Linked DNA regions of Homo sapiens: region 2 is linked to region 1. Evidence: promoter capture Hi-C in human tissues and cell types (Jung and others, 2019). All regions are on one chromosome and are shown on one strand. The core of a region is centred on a gene start or on the middle of the fragment in contact, and the rest is flanking DNA. Distances in the headings are between cores, read along the strand shown.

Region 1 (7,919 bases), core at 2,366-4,865:
GGTGAGGGAGACACTTGCCCCCATGCAAAACTTAAGGAGGCGCCAAAAAACTCGGCAATCAAGATGAAAATAGGCCAGGCACAGTGGCTCATGCCTATAATCCCAGCACTTTGGGAGGCTGAGGCAGGAGGATCGCTTGAACCCAGGAGGTCAAGGCTGCAGTGAGCCATGATCGCAGTACTGCACTCCAACCTGGGTGACACAGTGAGACCCTGTCTCAAAAAAAAAAAAAAGCATCTTGAGTAGCTGGGATTACAGGTGGGTGCCACTACACCTGGCTATTTTTTGTATTTTTAGTAGAGATGGAATTTCACCACGTCAGCTAGGCTGGTCTTGAACTCCTGGCCTCAAGTGATCTCCCTTTCTCAGCCTCCGAAAGTGCTGGGATGATAGGCATGAGCCACTGTACCCAGCCCCAAAAACGTTTTTTAAAGAATGGGTCTTGCTCTTTCACCCAGGCTGGAGTGTGGTGCTGTGATCACGACTCACTGCAATCTTGACCTCCTGGGCTCAAGTGATCCTCCCGCCTCAGCCTCTTGAGTAGCTGGGACCTCAGGTATGTGCCACCATGCCTGACTACCTTTTTTCTTTTTTTTTTTTTCTTCTTTTTTTTCTTTTTTTTTTTTCTTTTTTTTTGTAGAGATGGGGTCTCCCTATGTTGCTCAGGCTGGTCTCGAACTCCTGGGCTCCAGCGATCCTCCCACCTCAGCCTCCCAATGTGCTGGGATTAGAAGCATGAGCTGGCAACATCAGAATTTGTAAAGAAAAGATTGCTGGCTGGGCGCGGTAGCTCACGCCTGTAATCCCAGCACTTTGGGAGGCCGAGGTGGGTGGATCACGAAGTCAGGAGATTGAGACCATCCTGGCCAACACGGTGAAACCCTGTCTGTAATAAAAATACAAAAAAAGTTAGCCGGGCACGGTGGCGGGCGCCTGTAGTCCCAGCTACTCGGGAGGCTGAGGCAGGAGAATGGCGTGAACCTGGGAGGCGGAGCTTGCAGTGAGCCGAGATGGCGCCACTGCACTCCAGCCTGGGCGACAGAGCAAGACTCCATCTCAAAAAAAAAAAAAAAAAAGATAGCTGCACCTTGCCATACTGAGGCCTGAGGCAAAAGGAGAAATCAGTAACACTGAGCCTACCTTTACTTAAATTTTTGACATGTTATTCTAAATGGATTTTAGGCAGCATTATTTTTGATTTTTAAAATATATTGCATTAAAACGTGAAAAACATCCACCTCAATGATTGAATTGCCGGCACTCCCTTAAGTTTTGTGCTGAGGGTGCATCACTTGCCTTGCCCTAATGTTGGCCCAGGGCTTACAAATGACTCAAAGGTGAAGCTCCAGAAAAGTGAGAGAGAGCACATAGGTGGAGTTCCAGGGAGAAAGGGCGTGTGCCCTTTCGGCCTGGCTTTTCCCTCATCATGGTGGGAGCTGTGGTTGGTAGTGGTTGAGAGGAACTGACTCTGTTCTTGATCCTAGCAACTTGTGACATGCACGCCAGGAATGTCATGAGAGGAGCTGTAATAAGCTATCCGAAGTGATCGTCCCTTGAACGAGAGCCACTGCAGCCAAATTAGTGTGGATGAAGGGCACAGGGGACGGGCACTTCTCGATCTGGGGGAGGAGGGAGGAAAAAAATGATTACCCATAGGTTTTAGGCTTTAATTGATTTGTATTTTTCCAGGCTGCTAAAGAAGATTGAATCATGGTAGGAAAAGCGCCTAGGGCTTAAAATAAATGAGGAGAAAGGCAAGTCATTTCAGAAATGTCCAGGAAGCAAAACAAACCTCTCCAGTGCAAATGGCAGGCATGGCTGTTGTGTTCTTTGCTCAGGGGGAGGCAGCTTCCTTTTCTTCCCCAGCTATCTTTACAGTTGGGTTTGACAAGCCTACCAAGGTGTACACACTTTGAGGAAGCGGTTTGGAGGGGAAGAGGCAACAGTGCTGGCTTTTACGTTGGGAGGGCATGTCTCTGGGCTGATGGCTGGTAGAAAAGGGCTTTAGCTGGAGCCTGGATGCAGAGTTCATGCCCTGGCTCTGCCCAATCTAACCAGTGGCCCTAGCCAAGATTTCCCCCTTTTCTGGGCCTCAGTTTATCCATCTGTCAAATGAGAGAGTTTGGATTAGCCTCTTCTTCAAGAGGCCTTCTGGTTCTAAGGCTGTATGATCAACAACTGATGAGAAAAGAAGCCCAGAAAGGGGAAGTGACTCACCCAAAGTTACCCAGCCAACCACTCCTCATTGTTCTAATCCTCCAACTTCTCATCTGTAAAATGGGAATGAAGGTGCCTATTTCACAGGATTGTTGGAACGATTAAATGAGATACTACTACTAATAGTAGCCCCATATATTGTGTGCTTACTGCATGCCAATTACTCTCCAATACATTAGCTCCTGAAATCCTTCAGCAGTTCCCTCTTCACAGGGCAGGAAAGTGAGGCACGGAGCAAGCAGAGAGTTTGCCAAGCTCACACAGTAAGAAGCGGAGCCAGAACTTGAAGCTGGGGCTGTCTGCATTGACTGTGCCATTTTCCCTCTCCATAAGGTACAGAGACAACAGAATTTTGCCGAGAGCACAAAGAGTTCAACAAACTCTTACAGCTCCTACGATTAACGGCAACAGACAAGAGCTAGAGATCCCAATTCAGTGTTGCGACTAATAAAATATCAAGCTGCCCCGTACCACTGGGAATTCATACGACTTAAAAAGCTCCGTCTCCAGCGCGAACCTTCCCCTCGCCCCCACCCCGAGACAGCTGTGCAGGCCCCTCCATCCTCCGGACCCCTCCATCTTTCCATCCTCCACCCCAGCTTCCAGTTTCTGACCCAGAGGCCGGGGTGGGGTCCGAGTGGGCCCACCCACACTCATCCCTGTTTACCCTTGCTTGTCCTAGAGCGCTCTTCGCTCCACGGAGCACCCAGAGAAGTTGGAGTGACTCCGTGAGTGTCGGTGCCCCGGAGGGTGGGGAGGCCCGTTCCAGGACTTGGGAGGCGAGGGTGGGTGGGGACGTCGGGCGAGAAGGGGCGGGGCCGCGGGCGTGATTGTTACCGCCGGTGCCATAGCAATCGGGTCACTTGGCGGCTTGGCCAGAGCCGGGGAGCTGGGAGGGGTCTACCGGGGCTCGACTCTAGGAGTTGGGCTGAGGATTTCCACCCGATCCTCGAACCTCCGGCCCATCTCATGGACGCCCCTCCCCCTTCAAACACCCTCCCCCACATTTATTCCCGCGTCTGTTTTAAAGATGGGTAAACTGAGGCACAGGGAGCCGGGCCGGGGAGCACTGACAGAACCAGAAGCAGGTTCTGCCTCCCGTCCCCTCGGAGGGCCGACTTGCCCCTTCTGGGTTTCGTCGGGGGTCTCAGATACGAGGAGGCCCAGCTGGAAGCCACCTGAGGGTGTCCCCCGCTAAGATGCGCAAATGGGAAAAGCGAGGCCGGGGTTGGGGAAAGAACTTGCCCGAGCCGCAGAGCGCGTCAGCCGGGGAGGTCGGGGCGGGGGCGACCCGCGCGACCGAGGATCGGGTATCTGGGCCCGGCGCGGAGCCTGCAGGGCGGGGCCGCGGCGCGTGCTGATGACGCAGTCGGCGCGGCGGCCCTAGCGACGCGGTTACTAGGGAGCGGCGAGCCGAGACGGCTACATGGACGCCACTATCGCCCCGCACCGTATCCCCCCCGAGATGCCCCAGTACGGGGAGGAGAACCACATCTTCGAGTTGATGCAGGTGACCGGACACCCCTGCCCGTCGCGACGCTGGCGGCGGCTCGGGAGCCTCCACTGCGACGTCGGGTGCGCGGCCGGGACCCGCAGCTGGGGCCGAGTCGCGCGCCCACGAAGCAGCCCAACTCGGGATGTACGATTCGTGTGTCGCCGTGACCCCGAGGGGGCCCTCGAGCTGGGGACGCTCCTGGTCCTGCCCGGGTTTGCCTCAGGCGGACCCAGGGGGAGGAAGGGGGCCACTCGAGCCGGGATTTGGTCCTGGCTGTGCCGCCAGCGGGCCTTATGGTCTGGAACCAGTCCTTTCCTTTTCTCGGTTTCCCCACCTGTGAAATGCCAGGTTGCAAGAGGTGGTCTCCCAGGGGCTCTCCCGGCGCTGACAATTACCATCTGTCGAATTTGTGGGGAGCCTCTCGGCCCAGGTTTCTGAGGTGGGCATTGTCCGAGTTCAAGCTGGCATCTCCATCCTCAGAGAGGGCCGCCTCTGGGACAGCAGCATCTCCCACCTTGGTCCCTCCTCCTCAGGGCCAGACGTCCCCGGCAGCTCCGAAGCTCTCATTCTGGCTCCAGGCCTGACTGGGCCCCCAGCTCACCGTGTGACTTTGGGCGAGGCCCCGTCCCCGCCAGGGCCCCAGTTTTCCCTTTTGCACGTGGTGGAGGTCAAGGCTTTCAGGAGCTGGAGGGGAAGAACTCTCAGCCACTCAAAGGTTCTGAGAGGCAAGGGGAAGCTGGAGCTCAGTTTTCAGATCATTTGTCTGCTTCCCAGGGTACACCCCATCCCCAGGGGCATGGCATGGAGGGCATAGTGGTGTCTGTGGTCATTTGAGGTTCTGCCCTGCACACTAGACAGCTGAGCCCAGACGAAGAAACCCGTGTCTGCACCTCCATCAAACACATTTCCCTCGGAAAGTGTTAACTGATAGAGGGAGAGCAAGAGATTCCTAAAACTGCTTGAGTGGCCAATCACAAATCAAATAGCTAGCTGGGTTAGAAGTCAGCAGGTCAGGGCAGGATGGGGGATCATCTGGAGCCCTGTTGTCTGCTCTAGAGAACCTGGTGTGTTTTCCACATTGATTGTTGGAGGAATTGCCCAGGAAAGCTTTTATTGATTTTGAAACAGGGTCTTGCACTGCTGCCCAGGCTGGAGTGCAGTGATACAATCATGGCTTACTGCAGCCTTGAACTCCTGGGCTCAAGCAATCCTTCTGCCTTAGTCCCTCCAGAGTAGCCGAGACTACAGGTGCAGGCCACCATACCTGGCTAATGTTTTTTTTTTAATTTTAGTACAGACGAGGTCTTGCTATGTTGCCCGGACTGGTCTTGAACTCCTGGGCTCAAACAGTCCTTCTGCCTCGGCCTCCCAACAAGAAAGCTTTCAGTCCAGTATTTCCAGTCCTTAGTCATCTGTGGATTCCCTCCATGTTTTTGACCATTTCCATTTTTTATACTTTTGATTTTAAAATAATGTTAGATTCACAGGAAGTTAAAAAATAGTATGGATTTCTGGTCTCCCCTCCCACATTGCCCCCGTGATAACATCTAACATAACTGTAGCACATTGTCAAAACCAGGAAACTGGCATTGGTACAATAGGATTACCTGAACTGTAGGCCTTGTTTGGATTTCCTCCATTTTTACCTGCATTGATGTTTTTGTTGTGCATACAGTTCTGTGCAGTTGTATCACATGTACAGATTTGCATAACCGCTACTGCACCTCCATTTAAACTAATCACTTGTTTAAATCAACTCACCTTTTAAAAAATTAAATAGCCGCTTTTGCCTCATCCTAAGTGATATCCTTGAAATTATTGATTTGATGTACTTATATTTCTAATACACGTTAAATACACAATGATTTAAACATGAAATGTAAAATATTTATGTGTGAACCATCTAAAATCATCTCATTCCATCATCGCACCAGTGACATACAAACATGAATTCACTCCAGCTGTGCTACTGAACAGGCAGAGAAGCTGAGGCCCAGAGAAGGGAAGGGACTTGCTGATGAGATACAGTGGGGCTGGAACCAAGACTTCTCATGGCTCGGTGCTCTTTCCCTGCCCCACACTCCCTTCACTCCAAGAGGGCTACAGCCCCTCCCTCCTTGTCCCTGGGGCTCAAGGATACCCCTTATTGCAGCAGCACAGCTGCTATGAGCTCCTCCTCATTTCTCTGCCTAGGGTTCTGCAACCCCAGAAGCTGCTTTCTCTTGATATGCTTGCCTGATTGGATGAAATGGCCAGAATATCCCAGGACTATTTAGAAATCTGGCTGGTAACATTCTGTTCCATTCTGGAGAGACACAGTTAGTGGTGACGGTCATGTTCCCCAGCAAACATCTGCGCTGGGCATCTGCTATGACTGCCAGGTATTGGGGTGCCAAGGGCTCTAGGCAGACAAGGAGGCCCACAGAACCCATGGCCTGCCGGGGGGATGGTGGCCTGGTGAGTAGGGACAGGGTGAGGCGTGGAACAGGGCGATGCCCGCAGGCAGGTGCAGGAGCATCTGACATATTTACGTAGTGCACATACTCAGGAAGGTATGTTCCCATTGAGATCTGAGACTGAGCAGAAGTTAGCCAGGATGAGGACAAGGCAGAAGCTTCCAAGCTGAGGGAACAGCATCTGCTAAGGCTCTGAGGGGAATGGTGATGCTTGAGAACTTGGAGAAGGCTGGTCTGGGAAGCTCAAAGGGCCCCAGGGGAGAGAGCCCTGGACTGCCTGCTCTGAATCAGGGGCGAGACTCCTCCACTTCTGCCTCCCCATAGGTGCCTCCGCAGCAGCACCACGTGGCCCCCCTCATGCCTCTGCTCATGGGGACCCAAGCAGATGCCAGCTGGGGCGGTGGCTGGGTCCCAGGTTGAAGGCATGTTTGGTGGGGTGCAGTGGAGAGAGCAGGCCCCATAGCTGGTATCTGTGGTGACCAGGTGCCCTTGCAGGTATTAACCACCTGGGTGTCTGCCCTGCACCCACAGAACATGCTGGAGCAACTCCTGATCCACCAGCCCGAAGATCCCATCCCCTTCATGATCCAGCACTTGCATAGAGACAACGACAATGGTGAGCACTGGCTGGGGCTCTTCCCCTCCTCGTCTTCCCTTCCCCTCCTCCTCCTTCCCCTTCTTCCCTGACTCCTCTGCCTCCTCCTCCTCTTCCTCTCCAGGAACCCTGCCCCATCCCGAGAATAGCTGAGCACCATTCTGTCCTACCTGTGTCTGAAGGGAGGTCAGAAGGGAGGGGTTTCATCAACTTGAGGTGGTGGTTCATTGAAAAATGCCTTGATTTCTTTTGGAGCACAACTTATAAAAATTCTCTTGCCAAGTTATTAAAATGAAAACCCCAGAATGACCCATGGAATCAATTATTAATGCTTTCGCCTGCCCTAGCTGATGTCGCCTGTTGGGTTTCAGCTCTCTGATCACTCCACTTGTCAGGTGTAAGTTTGGTTTCTGGTCTACCTAGACAGGCAAGCTCTTGGGCTTTTCCGACGGTCTCATTATCGGAGCCTGTTAATGAGTTTCCGAGCTCCCCAAACCTTTGCAGTTGGCCGGTGCAGGTCAGCCTGACCCAAGGCCGGAGCACAGAACTGGGGAGGAGGGAGGCGCTCACTCAAGGAAGGCCCCTCACTCCACTCCATGGTCCATTTGCCAAGTGGAGGATCAGTCCTGTCCTTTGTGAGCTGTTGGGGAGGACCGATGTCTTGGAGCTTTTATGTTTCTTTCGTTGGAGCATTAGCTGCTTTGAAGGAGCTACCAGTGCACCAGTGAAATTAGTGCTTGGTACAGCTGAGGACAGAGCCCAGAGATGCCCTGTGTGGAGGTTCAGAAGGCCCAAGGTGAGAAATGACACTAGGTAGTTAAAAAAAAGAAAGGAGGTTCCAAGCCTTTTCCTTGTGCCCCACATGCAAGTCCTGACGCATCCAGGCCTGGCTGCGGAGCAGCAGAGTAAGGGAATCTTGGGTCCCGATGCCATTGCATGGACCTAGGCAGGCAGGTACAGAGAGAGACCCCACAAAGGGCCAACAAAAAGGCCCTTTTCTGAGCCTCTGGTTAGGTGCAAATGGCTGATTCACTAGACATTCCCTTGTTCAGCGGATGTTGACTGAGCGTCCTATATGCCCAGGCGGGGGTGGTGCGGTGCTGGGGTGGCCTTGGGACCCCCTTCCCCGTGTCTGATTTGCCTTCTCCCCAAACCC
Region 2 (7,919 bases), core at 3,588-6,087, 83 kb before region 1:
TCAAACTCCTGAACACCAGCGGTTCTCCTGCCTTGACCTCTCAAGTGCTGAGAAAGCAGGCGTGAGCCACTGTGCCTGGCCTATTTTTGTTGTCCATTCTCTTTTCCCCCTTAAACTTCAGCATCGCTGTGAACTCATGGATTTTTTTAATAATTTAATTTAATTTTAAGTTCCAGGATACATGTGTAGGAAATGCAGGTTTGTTACATAGGTAAACATGTGCCAGAACTCATGGATTTTTATTTATTCAACATTTTACATTAAATTGCAGAAATTCTATTTTATGGCTCCTGTGGACACTATAGCAATTACATGTTGGGTGGCTTAAAACAACAGAAATTTCTTGCCTGTCAATTCTGGAGGCTGGAAGTCGGAAATCAAGGTGTCGGCAGGATTGGTTCCTTCTGGAGTCTCCGAGGGATGACCTGACCCAGGCCTCTCTCCCAGTGCCTGCTGGCTGCGGGCAATCTTTGGCATTCCTTGGCCTGGAGCTGCGCCACTCCAATCTCTGCCTCTGCCTTCATGGGGCCTCCCACTCCGTGTCTATGTCCGTCCTGCTTCTGTCTTATACAAGGACACAGGACATTGGATTAGAACCCAGCCGGCTAATCCAAGATGGTCTCATTTTGAGATCATTAATTACATCTGCACAGACCTTTTTCCCAAATACGGTCACATTCACAGGTACTGAGTGTTAGGATTTGGACCTATCTTTTTAGGGGGCCACTATTCAACCCACTACGGTTTCCTCAAATTTTGTCACGAACAGCACATCCAGGTTAGTTTCTGTATGGGTCTGACATTTCCGAATCAATCTTCGAGCATGTCCTTGCTTTCTAACACAAGAAGGTGACCCACTTGTACTTCCCCTGCTGCATTTCTGGAAGCAGCCAGTTCTTTCAGCCTAGTTCTATTTAGTGAGGGCTGGGATCTAAAGCCATGGCCAGGAGTTCTTGTTACTGGGCACCTGCCTCTAAGCTGTTTCAGTGTTCAGAACTAGGAAATCGATGCTTTTTAATTTATTTTTGTAATTATGACTTTGTCAATCTAAACAACAAACAGAGAGAAAGACTCTCTAGAAGAAAATAATGTTTATTCAGGTATAGGCATTGCAATGGGAATATGGGGGCCATAGTAAATTATTGATATGTACATATTCTGGGAGGTAAAGGAAGGCAAAAGTTTTTAAAGAAAAAATGAGGACCAGCCTGGCCAACATGGCGAAACCCCATCTCTACTAAAAATACAAAAATTAGCCGGGCATGGTGTCAGGTGCCTATAATCCCAGCTACACGGAAGGCTGAGGCCGGAGACTCGCTTGAAACCAGGAGGCAGAAGTTGCAATGAGCCGAGATCACGCCACTGCACTCCAGCCTGGAACTCCATCAAAAAAAAAAAAAAAAAAAAAAAAAAAAGGAAGAAAAATTGTTTTGAGATAATCATCCTTGGCTACAAGGATCAGTAACAAGGGTAGCACAGTTCAAGACTGGACAGGCAGTTGCTGGGCAGATGTCCTCACAGAAGTATTTTTGTGTGTGTAGAATTGTGACGGCCTTTGTGCAAGGTTGTGGTTTTTGCAAAATCTTTTGCGATAGTGATTGTGACCAGGCATTGATGCATGAGAACCCGCCCGTCATGGCCTTCCCCGGCTCTTCTTGTCAGGGTTTTTAATACAAGTGGCTGAAAATTGATTCAGACAATTTTCACAAGTTCCTATTGATATTCTCAGTTTGAATTTAGCATTACTGGGTTTTGTTTGTATACAGTGAAGGGGTCCAAGAGCCGTTTTGTTATATGCATAGATTGCATAGTAGTGAAGTCTGGTATTTTAGTGTATCCATCACCAGATAGTGTATATTGTACCCGTTAAGTAATTTCTCAGCATTATAGGTTTTTATTTAATTAATTTATTTATTTAGAGATGGAGTTTTGCTTTTGTTGCCCAGGCTGGAGTGCAATGGCGTGGTCTCGGCTCACTGCAACCTCCACCTCCCAGGTTCAAGCGATTTTCCTGCCTCAGCCTCCCAAGTAGCTGGGATTACAGGCGTGCATCACCATGCCCAGCTAATTTTGTATTTTTAGTAGAGATGGGGTTTCACCATGTTGGCCAGGCTGGTCTTGAACTCCTGACCTCAGGTGATCTTCCCACCTTGGCCTCCCAAAGTGCTGGGATTACAGGTGTGAGCCACCCATGCCCAGCCTGCATTATAGGTTTTTAAAAATACTTGATTTTATATTTGTGTCTCTTTTCTCTTACATTGGAAATCTTGGTTCTTGACAAAATTCGCATTTTTATCTCTGCATCTTACTGCGCCATAGTTTATTCAATCAGTCCCCTATTTTTTTTCTTTTTTAAACTTTTTTGAGAGGCTTTTGGGCAAAAACCAGAAAGCCTGCTAGACAAATTCTAAAAGAACTGTAACACTAATCAGTCCCCTATTAATTGACATTTGGGTTGTCTCCAATATTCAACTTTTGCAGATAATGCCATAAGAAATATTTTTTTGGCCGGGTGCAGTGGCTCACACCTGTAATCCTAGCACTTTGGGAGGCTAAGGTGGCTGGATCACCTGAGATCAGGAGTTCGAGATCACGCCACTGCACTCCAGCCTGGATGACAGCAAGACTCCATCTCAAGGGAAAATAATAATAACAATAATAATAATAATAATTTTTTTGAGACGGAATCTGTCTCTGTCGCCCAGACTGGAATGCATCTGGCGTGATTTTAGCTCACTGCAACCTCCGCCTCCCAGGTTCAAGAGATTATTCTGCCTTCGCCTCCTGGGTAGCTGGGACTACAAGTGCGTGCCACAACATGCCACTAATTTTTGTATTTTTAGTAGAGATGGGGTTTCACCACGTTGGCCAGGCTGGTCTTGAACTCTTGACCTCGTGATCTGCCCGCCTCAGCCTCCCAAAGTGCTGGGATTACAGGCATGAGCCACCACGCCTGACCAATAATATTTTTTTGAAATGAAAGTTCCCATATATGTAATACTGAACCCAGCCTACTAGTGTACAACATGTAAACAAAGAGAAAAAATAGATTCCTTTTTTTTTTTTTTTTTTTTTTTGAGATGGAGTCTCACTCTGTTGCCCAGGCTGGAGCGCAGTGGCGCCATATCAGCTCATTGCAACCTCTGTCTCCTGGGTTTAAGAGATTCTCCTGCCTCAGCCTCCCAATTAGCTGGGACTGCAGGCTGGTGCCACCACGCCTGGCTATTTTTTTTTTTTTTTTTGTATTTTTAGTAGAGATGGGTTTTCACCACGTTGGCTAGGCTGGCCTCAAACTCCTGACCTCAAGTGATCCACCCGCCTTGGCCTCCCAAATTAGTGGGATTACAGGCGTGAGCCATTGCGCCTTGTCAAAAATGTATTCCTAATAAAACATGTCAAACTGTCCAGATATGGTGACATTTTCAGCTTGATATGGTGATGATGGTGACCTTGATAGAACATAATATGTGTGTCATCTCATGTGTAATTCCTTATAGACCCAGCTTGGTTCTTCTTCAATATCTCCTTTTGGAGTTGTACCTAATTTGATTACCAGTTTTCATCTGATTCCACTGGGAAATGGGATGATTTTTGCTTTTGTTTCTTGGCCAGGAATCACTTAATCCTCAAAGTCTTGTGAGAAGACATGGCGAGAAGCAGAGTCAAACACACACCACGATAGCAGAGAAGGGAAGAGAGAGAGAAGAAAGAATCTTTTATGGGCCAGGAGAGGAGGCTCACACTTGTAATCCCGCACTCTGGAAGGCTGAGGTGAGCGGATCACCTGAGGTCAGGAGTTTGAGACCAGCCTGGCTAACATGGTGAAACCCTGTCTCCACTAAAAATACAAATAATTAGCCAGGCATGGTGGCTCGCATCTGTGGCCCCAGCTACTTGGGAGGCTTAGCCACGAGAACTGCTTGAACTCAGGAGGTGGAGGTTGCAGAAAGCTGAGATGGTACCACTGTACTCCAGCCTGTGTGACAGAGTGAGATTCTGTCTCAAAAGAAAAAAAAAAAAAGAAAAAAAAAACAATTCTGTATGCACACATGTGTGAGTGTAGGGTTGTGTGTGTGTGTGTGTGTGTGTGTAGAGTGTAGGTGTGTAGGGAAGATGCATAGCAAAGAAAGAATGCACACATTATGGCCTTAGATATGGCCAAATTCCTGTCTAGAGAGGGTGTGCAGTCCTGTCCTCCCACTCCCAGAAGTGTAGATTTGTTCCCACAGCCTTGCCAGCAAGGTGGGTTGTCAAATTTGGGGAATTTTGGCCGGGTGCGGTGGCTCTCACCTGTAATCCCAGCACTTTGGGAGGCTGAGGCAGGCAGATCACGAGGTCAGGAGATCGAGACCATCCTGGCTAACATGGTGAAACCCTGTCTCTATTAAAAACACAAAAAATTGGCCAGGTGTGGTGGCGGGCACCTGTAGTCCCAGCTACTGGGGAGGCTGAGGCAGGAGGATGGCGTGAACCCGGGAGGCAGAGCTTGCAGTGAGCCAAGATTGCACCACTGCACTCCAGCCTGGGCGACAGAGCGAGACTCCGTCTCAAAAAAAAAAAAAAAAAATGAGAGGTATTTTGCCAATCTGATAGGACAGGAGGAAGGGCATCCCAGGGTAGTTTTAATTTGTGTTTCCTTTATGTTGAGTGAGGCTGTCTTTTCATACTTCTTAGGGTCACTTACATTTTTCTGAAAACTTTCCATTTATGCCTTTTTTCTGTTGTTTTTTTTTTTTGTCAAATAATTGACTTTTCACAATTAAGACTGTGATATAATAGTTCTGTGTATATTAGAGAGGCCGTTTGTGATATAAGTTGCAAAAGTTTTCTCTCCGTCTATCATTTATCTTCTGACTTTGCTCTGCTTGCTTTCTTCTTACCATGGAAAAGGTTTTTGTTTTGTTTTGTTTTGCTTTGGTTTTTTGAGGTCGCCTAACTTATCGGTCTTCTATTGTTTCTGACTGTTCAGCCATTTTTAGAAAGGTTTTCTTCACTCCTGATTACACAGAATTCACTCATGTTTTCTTCTTGCACTCGTATGATTTCACTTTTGACACTTAAAGTTTATTCTGGTGTAGGGTGTGGAGAGGGATCTAACTTTATCTTTTTCCAAATGGTCACTGCATATGCTTCAGGGGAGGCGCAGCTAAAATAAAACCTCTAGCTGTGAATGCTGCTGCTTGGGGGACTGAGAAATGGTCTCACGGTGACCATGAAACTCTTTAACATCCAACACGCTGCGGAGTGTGGCCCGGCACAATTTATTGCTGGGGGTGTGTAGAGGCGTGATCAGGGATTTGAGAGAGGAGGTGGCCTACCCAAGAAGACAAAACACCCAGAATTTTAAATTTTAATTGAGCCAGGCTCGGTGGCTCATGCTTGTAACCCTAATGTTTTGGGAGACTGAGGTGGGAGGATCTCTTGAGACCAGGACTTCGAAACCAGCCTGGGAAACATAGTTAGGCCCAATCTCTAAAAAAATAAAAATAAAAAAAGTATCCGGGTGTAGTGGTACATGCCCATATTCCCAGCTCTTTGGGAGGCTGAGTTGGGAGGACCACTTGAGCCCAGGAGCTCGAGGCTGTAGTGAGCTATGATCGCACCACTGTACTCCAAGCAGGGACAAAGCGAGATCCTGTCTCAATAAATACATAAATAAATAAAATTGGCAGGCATCAATGTCAAGATGAAGCCTTTGACAACATTCCACAGACAGCTCTTTCCTTCTTTCCTGAACTCACAAACTTCCAGGGGTTCTGCGTTGCCTACAGATATAGCCCAGGCTGCTTATTTAGCCCAGGGTCCTTCATACATGACTTTTCTTGCCTCCTATTCCCTACACCTGACCATTTATAAAGCAAGCAAGCCTTCTGTGGTCTTGCTTCCCTGCTTCTGCTCAAGCTGGGTCCTACTGTCGTAAAGCCCATCTGCTCCATCACCATTGATCAAATTCTTGATGAAACCAGAAGCAAAGTTCAAGTCTCACCCTCACCAGTAAGTTGCCCTCATCACTCTAATTTTGACGTCTTTCTCCTGCAGCACTTTGTAGGGTGGTTCTGGGCTGGACCTGGCCTTGAGCAGAGTAGGATCAGTCTTTCCCATGTCATCTGCTGGGTCCATGCTCCTTGCCAGCAGGTATAGGGGACTGAATTATCTCCTCATCCCAATTCATGTCTACCTGGAACCGCAGAACGTGACTTTATTTGGAAAGGGAGTCTTTGAAGATGAAGTTCGGTTCAGCTGAATTCACACTGGGTTGAGGTGGGCTTTAAATACAATGCCTGGGGTCTCATAAGAAGAGGAGCAAACACAGAGGGACACAGAGGAGAAGCCTGCATGAAGATGGAGGCAGAGACTGGGCTGACGCAGCCACAGCCAAGGAACACCAAGCATGGCCAGTGACCACCAGAAGCTTAGAAAGAGCCAGGGAACAGCTGCTCCCTCGGAACCTTCAGAGGGAACCAACCCTGCTGACTGACACCTTGGGTTTGGGACTTTTGGCCTCGAGAATTGTGAGAGAATAATCTTCTGTTGTTTTAAGCCACCCAGTTTGCAGTAACTTGTTATGGCAGCCCTGGGAAATGAATATAGCAGGCATCAACAGTAACAATATTTACTCAGTGCTCACACTGCGTGGGCACTCTGCTAGATATTCACACGTGTCTCTCACTGGACTGTCCGTATTAACCTGTTCTCACGTTGCTGTGAAGAAATCCTGGCACTGGGTAATTTATAAAGGAAAGCAGTTTAATTGACTCACAGTTCCTCAGGGCTGGGAGGGCCTCAGGAAACTTACAATCATGGCAGGAGGGGAAGCAAACATGTCCTTCTTCAAGTGGCGGCAGGAAGGAGAAGTGCCGAGCAAAGTGGGGAAAGCCCCTTATAAAACCATCAGGTCTCGTGAGAACTCACTCGCTATCCCGAGAACAGCATGGGAGAACCACCCCCATGACTCAATTACCTCCCCCAGTTTCCCTACCATGACACATGGGGATTATGGGAACTACCGTTCAAGATGAGATTTGGGTGGGGACACAGCCAAACCATGTCACTGTCCTGGGAACCTTCTGAGCTGGGAATTTAAGGTATTAGTGTCATCTCCATTTTACAGACAGAGAAACTGAGGCTTGGAGACTCACCCAGGACCACACATCTTGTTTGCAGAGCCAGGATCCCAATAGGCCAGCCCTCTCTGTCCTCACCAGAGGGCCCGGCTCACCCACTGCACACCCTCAGCTGCCATGGCCAGTTCTCCTGGTCTCTCATTTACCTTCTGAATGCCAACACTTCCCAAATCTTGGCCTCTGCCTTCAAGTCTAAACTCCAAATCCACTGGGCCTGTCTCTCTGGCATCTCAATTGAGCTGGTCCCAAAGTGACATCAGCCCACGTTCTCTAGCCCAGTTCCTACCTCATGTCTCAGGGAATGGCACCACCCACACCCTAGCTAAAATCCTGAGTTCAACTTCCAACATAGTTTGGATGTGTGTCCCTGCCCAAATCTCATGCTGACATGTAATCCCCAATATTGGAGGTGGGGTCTGGTGGGAGGTGATTAGATCATGGGGGCAGATTTCTCACGGATGGTTTATTACCATCCTCTTGGTACTGTCCTCTTGATAGTGAATGACTTCTCATGAAAGCTGGTCATTTAAAAGTGTGTGGCACCTCCTCGCTGTCTCTTTCTTGCTCTTGCTTTCTCTATGTGACGTGCCTGCTTTCCATTTGCCTTCCGCCATGATTGGAAGCTTCCTGAAGCCTTCTCAGAAGCAGATGCCGCTATGGTTCTTGTACAACCTGCAGAACTGTGAGCCAATTAAACCTCTTTTCTTTATAAATTACCCAGTCTCAGATATTTCTTTGTAGCAACGCAAGAACGGCCTAACACATCCTCTTTCTCCTCTATCTCCCGTCTTACCA

Evidence for each region. Contacts are between HindIII fragments. The study calls those that stand out against the background at their distance.
Region 2: a fragment that was not itself captured here is called in contact with the fragment with the promoter of AK8 in region 1 in 9 of the 25 tissues and cell types used here (H1 embryonic stem cells, bladder, heart left ventricle and 6 more).

The regions. Positions count from the first base shown.
Region 1 is chr9:132,873,980-132,881,898 of GRCh38, reverse strand. It overlaps AK8 (adenylate kinase 8), which reads left to right and starts at 3,615. Exons shown (of 13, transcript NM_152572.3): 1 at 3,615-3,727; 2 at 6,700-6,784. The coding sequence starts at 3,644. It overlaps SPACA9 (sperm acrosome associated 9), which reads right to left and starts at 3,001. Exons shown (of 4, transcript NM_001316897.2): 1 at 2,885-3,001. The HindIII fragment of the contact is 8,008 bases long and covers 1-5,709 here.
Region 2 is chr9:132,958,240-132,966,158 of GRCh38, reverse strand. It overlaps a transcript of GFI1B not described here, the pseudogene RPL39P24 and the pseudogene RNU7-21P. Among named protein-coding and RNA genes, the nearest start is that of MIR548AW, 16 kb to the right of the region's middle. The HindIII fragment of the contact is 7,856 bases long and covers 910-7,919 here.